Regions from separate parts of the Homo sapiens genome. Here region 2 is linked to region 1. Evidence: promoter capture Hi-C in 16 types of primary human blood cells and fetal thymus (Javierre and others, 2016). All regions are on one chromosome and are shown on one strand. Each heading gives the region's core, a stretch centred on a gene start or on the middle of the fragment in contact. The rest is flanking DNA. Distances are from core to core; before and after follow the strand shown.

Region 1 (2,892 bases), core at 231-2,730:
TTTCAAGAAATGAGAATAATCATAACTGGCTCTATTTATCTTAGCATGGGTTGAAAGATATGAAAAGTTCCTTGATATGACTGGCACGATTCTATCCCATAAAACCACTCGTAAATATCAGTTGAAATAATGCCTGTAGGGAAAATTTTCAAATGTCCTTTCTGTCAATGCAGAAATGCCAGTGCAGCTTGTTTTCTGGGTGGCATGTAAGTTGTAGACAGGCACCACATTTTAGACATATTATGGTGGTGCGGTGAATTGACAGGCAGTTTACCACCATTTCCATGTATTAGATTATGTGTACCTCTGGCTATCCTGACACTTTGCCCCCAAAGTGGAGATAGTGAAAGAGAAGGAGAGAGGGAGAAGAACTCCTCGCATCTGTGCCCCTACCTCAGCAGCTCCTCCTCCTTGTCTCTGAGGGTCTCCAGAGTTTGAGAGTTTGGTGTCATGTTGGCCCAAGAGACTGTTGTCCTTTTGACAGCTCGGCTGTTTGTATCTCCAGAATGAAACATAATCAGATTTTTTTCAGATGTAGCATCTGCCTTCCCTCCAACATCCTTGGGTTAATCACGTGCTTGCTGGCCAGGATATGTAAATAAGACTTGGCTAAAAAAAACCCTTAAAGGATTATGAAGCAATCTTGCTTAATAGTAGCAGAACAAAACAAAACAAAAAACCACTCCAACAAATCCTCCTGTGTGCTACCAAGTAATGGAAAGATCCAGTTATGACTGGAACTGTCCTGGCCTGAGTATTGTCCTGGACCCAGAGGGAGCGAAGGAGGGAGGGAGGGAGGGAGGGAGAAAGAGAGAGAGAGAGGGGAGAAATATGAGAGGAGGAGAGAAATTGCTGAAGGAGAGCTTCACTCACTGACTCCGCACACATTCCCTCCCAGTGGTTGCTAATGAAGAGCCCGTGCTGGTGAAGGAAGCCTGCTGATCCCGGAACTGGCCTTGCGCGCAAGTGGTGGGATGACAGACACATTCCCTTCCTTGAACTGCACTCTTTTCCCTTGCACTCAGAGGTGGCCCGAGAGAGCCCCGGTAGGTCCCGGAGTATGTTTCCATGCTGCAGAAGGCATGGAGAGATTCCAATTGCGGGGGTTCCTCCGTAGCCTTTGCAGCTGAACGTCTCCATCTCCTGTCCCTGGGCGGTCAGTCGCTGGCATGGCTCTGTGGAGTTTTACCTCCCAGTTGTCTATCACCAAAGCTGTCCACCTTGTCCGGAGGGGAATGAGCGTGGAAACCCCTGGCGGCTGTACTGACAAAAGCAACCTTAGTCAATGACAGAGCTGGGCAGGCGGCGAGGTCTTGCGGGCTGGCCTTTCTGCTGCTGGTAGGAGGATCATGTGCTGCTATTTCGGAGGCTCCTGCCAGTTGGCCCCTGCCCACCTTTTCTGTTCATACTGAAGCAGCCAGGAACTGAGAGAAAGAGGAAGCCTCGGCTGTGCTCCGGGCTGCGCTGCCAGGGTTGCGTCTGTAGCAGGTCCAGCAGCAAAAACAAAACAGGGCAGAGCCCAGGGAGGCCCCAGCCACAGCAGCTGAGTGTGGAAACAAAGCAGCCCGCCCGCCCTGGGAAGCTGCCGCAGGCTGTGGAAGGGAACTTCTAGAGAGGCTGCATCCTCTCCAAGCCGGGAAACTGAGGCCTAGAAGACATGTGACGTATCTGAGCAGTGACCAAGCCAGGAGTAGAAATGTCTCCTGAGGGCCTGTCCCCACTGCTGTTTGGTTTTAATCGCTCAGCTCTTAATAGTGTAACCCTGGACAAGTGACTTACTCTCCCCAGCCTCCATCTCATCTGTAAAATGGGGATGAGAAAATACCTCTAAGGGTTGTTGTGACAATTAAATGAGAAAGCATAAACAAAGCACTTGGCACAATGCCTGGCCACTTAATGGGCCCTCAGTAAATGTTGGCTAGTTATGTGAACCAGAACTTGAGATGGAAGTGAAGCAGAAACGATAGGGAGTTGTTCAAAAATACCTGATCTGCTAGGGAAATATTTTTTAAAACAAGGCTGCTTTTCACAAGGAGGGGTAGGCACACTTGAATTAAGATCAGATTGATTATATGTTTTTGTTCAGCTTTGATGTTGAATTGTTTAATCAAATGGCAGACTCTGCCCCGCTTCCAGGAAGAGCTCAACTCCAACTAGGAGGAAGCAGGTAATGTGAGCCATGGCATCTTCCCCGTTTAGATTTCCTGACTCTTTGTTTATCTTCTTTGTCAATGTGCGTCTGAACCTTCCCAACAGAGTTTAAAATGTTCAACTTCAAAGCTAAATTCTGATGGAAAACACTTCCTAAGAGGCTGAAGGCTTACTCTAGGGGTGAAAGAAGAGGAAAGGCGATGGATCACACCACATTTGTGGAAAATGTTAATGCTATGTGATCTTGCCTCCTTAGACCCAGATAGATGCAAAGGATAAGGAACTCGGTTTATAGCAACAGATACTCCAAAAGTGCTTTGCATCCTGTTCTGACACTAACTGGTTGTGAATCACTTGTTAAAGATAAGGATAACAACAATACCATTTCTTGAGCCCTTACTGGGTGTCTGGTATTGTGCAAAGTACTGTCTATATATTACCTCAGTTTCCACAACAACCTTATGAAATATTTCTTCCTTTTGTGATGAGGAAAGTGAGACTTAGAGAGAAGTTAAATAACTTGTTCAAGATCACTCAGCTAATAAATGCTCCTATGCACTTAGTCACTGTGCTATGTCCTGCTTACCCCTTAATGTTGACCTTAATCCTAACTTGAATTTAGGTTAATGTCTATGCACTGCTTTTTTTTCACCTGCAAATCAAGGGCTGTACTAACAGTTTTGCTAAGGCCACTTCTTTGAAAATTGTAAATATTTCCAGAAAGAGGCACAGTTTACAATA
Region 2 (2,700 bases), core at 133-2,632, 350 kb before region 1:
GAAAGAGCTGCCCTAGGAGTACAAGATGATGAGAAAGCCCACATAGGCAGCTTCTTGGTTCCCTAACCAAACAGCCACAGAGGTGGTAGGAGGGCTCAGGTCTCCCAACCTAGCCAGGGACATTTCCCCTATCAGCCTCATCTTGAGAAAAGTTCCTCTTATTTTGCATGGGCACCAAAATAGGAAAGCAAAGGCATTTGCATTTCAAAAATGCAATGTAAGGCAATTCTTAAACAAAAGAAATAAATTTCTATCAATAAAATTAAATTTCTGTCTGCTGGTCCGTTATTGCATCATGAGAAAATAGCTGGATGGATTGTCACTATGTGCAGAGACTATGTTTAGGATGACCTGAGTTACAGCTAGACTATGAAGCATGCACCAAATTCTTCAGGGAGAGGTCAGAAGTCATCCTCTAGAGAATTTGCAGGCCTTGATTTGCAATCAAGCTCTTTTCACAGCAGCAGTTCCATGTAGCTGCGTTCCATGGTGGATAGCCAGGGATTCATTTATTTAACTGCACCAATAAATCCTAAGCAATCCTTAGGGAAGCCACTCACAAATAGTAGAATGTTAGCCACTGGGTGAGGAGGCTGGAGCTGAGAGGGGCTTCCTAGTAGCCCCCAACCACAAAAAATGAGAAACTTTCCAGCTCATCCACTGCCTCAGACTCCTCTTTACTTCTTCTATGGCCATTGGGCTTCAGTGGAAAAACAAAACAAGAGTTGGATGCTTGCTAGACACCCCAACACAAGCCATTTAGGGGTAGGAGGAAGGGAGACTGGGAGAGGAATGTAGGACGTAGAGGTCACATGAAATTATGGCTGCTCCAAGGGGAACACAGTATTCAAGGCATCACGGGAAGTACAGGAGCACAGGCCCTCAGCCAGGATCCCTCTCCTCCCAGCCTCACGGACTCTGATCGGGCAGCCTGGGGGCTAACTGGTCTGCTGGGAGTTGGATAGTCAGTGAAAGCACTCTGCTCTCCTCCCCCAGCCTGCCTCTAGGTAAATGTGTGTATTTAACTAAACCACAACCACAAAGGCTCATGAAATTTTCCTGGAAGCCAATTAAAGCAAGGAGAGTCATAGTAGTAGATAGTATTAAGCCATGTACCAATTCTTTTTGGCTTACAAGTGCCGGAATTGCTTGTTTATACATTAAGAGCAAAAAAAAAAAAAAAAATAGACTGTAGTCTTTTCTCTTAATTGCTGTAATTATACTTGTGCCACCCACAAGAGAGGCCATTGATCTCATTTCTAAAGGGCAATTGTTGTAGCCTGGCTCTTCTGAGAGCTTTACAAAGTTTTTCTCATTTTCTGATTACCACTGGCGTATTGAGCTGCCAGTAGAAATGTATTTTCTCCCTGGTGCATTTCTCCCTCCTCCCCACACTCTCTCTCTCTCTCTCTCTCTTTCTCTCTCTCTCCCTCCCTCCTCCTGTCTCTGCTGCTGCTGGGTAGTTACCAGGAAGAGCTCACTTCCTCCTTCCTCAGGATCAAAAGGGATTGCAATTTCTGTGATCAATTGTGTGTGGTTAGACATTCTCAGAATATCCTGAATGTGGAAGTACTCAAAAGCCCATAATCTGGATAATAGTCGTCTGTGCTGGCCACATCCCTTAGGAAAGGCTCGAGAAACCTGGGTCAAAAAATTTACAAACTTTTTTGGCTCATTCGCATTGTGCGTTGAATTGGGCGAAGCATTTCCTTCGGGCTACCCGATACACAGCAATCTGAAGTATTATTGTGGCCTTCTACGCTTATCCTTGGAAGTCCTGCCTGAGTCCTTTCCCTGTGTAATCGTGAAGGAATGCTGTTCCAAAGACATGGGGTCAGAAGGGTGCAATAAATCAATCCAGATACACCCCTAATGAATGGCAAATTAAACAGCATTTGTTTTAAGTTCATAGGTCCTCTTGGAAGATGCCTTTTTAGTGCAAGCAAAATTCCTGGGTTGCAGGTATGAAAAGCTATGGGGGGTGGGGTGTGGAGGGCTCATAGTCTCTGGGTCGTTTTAGCCACCGTTTTTAAAAGTGCCAAAAATATCCCCAAAGTGAGTTTGCCCAGCTAACTCTGAATGTGCAGTGCTTTCTGCAGCCCTTACCCTAAGACAGAATTGTCTGATTGCTGTGGATTCTGGGGCGACCCAGACCCTTGCTCATTGGGTTTCCCCCTTGCTCATTCAGGTAGTGCTGCTGGGCTGGATAGGTGTTTTTGAGAACCCGCCATCCTCAAGGCTGCAAAGATTGAGCTAAAACAAATCTTCCAGTCACATACAATTCTAGCAGAATCACGGAGACATGGCCTGTGGCATTGAGAAGATTAAATTACCAAGCCCGCTGTGCCCCCTCCCCCAAGTAACTGGAATATACTTGTTAGAGCTGCATCAGAAAGAACAGAATAGCCTTTAGTCTTCCACAGCCCCTAAGCATTTTGGTAATAAATAATAAAAGGTATTTATTACATGTTACAGTGACATTGTGGAATTCAAATGCAGTTAACCATAACATTTTCTTCCTCAAATGTTAAAAAGAAAGAAAAAAGTATTAGGAGTGGGGAGGCAGGACAGCGGGAGCAGTGGCTTTAAAACCTGAGGAATGTGGTAAAGAGAGCCTTGTGTGTTTTTTATAGTCGTAGAATGGGGGTAGAAAGTGGGGAGAAAACATGGGCAGGAAGTCAGGGGATTAGGGCTGCAGGC

The links. Contacts are between HindIII fragments. The CHiCAGO score rates a contact against its expected background, and 5 or more counts as called.
Region 2: a contact is called between a fragment that was not itself captured here and the fragment with the promoter of HMGA2-AS1 in region 1, in 1 of 17 cell types (endothelial precursors). The highest score is 6.5, in endothelial precursors.

Annotation. Positions count from the first base shown.
Region 1 is chr12:65,880,845-65,883,736 of GRCh38, forward strand. It overlaps HMGA2-AS1 (HMGA2 antisense RNA 1), which reads right to left and starts at 1,481. Exons shown (of 3, transcript NR_158985.1): 1 at 874-1,481. The region is part of intron 3 of HMGA2 (high mobility group AT-hook 2); the gene reads left to right. The HindIII fragment of the contact is 6,963 bases long and covers 1-2,892 here.
Region 2 is chr12:65,531,966-65,534,665 of GRCh38, forward strand. All of the region lies in intron 2 of MSRB3-AS1 (MSRB3 antisense RNA 1), which reads right to left. Among named protein-coding and RNA genes, the nearest start is that of LINC02454, 70 kb to the right of the region's middle. The HindIII fragment of the contact is 7,122 bases long and covers 1-2,700 here.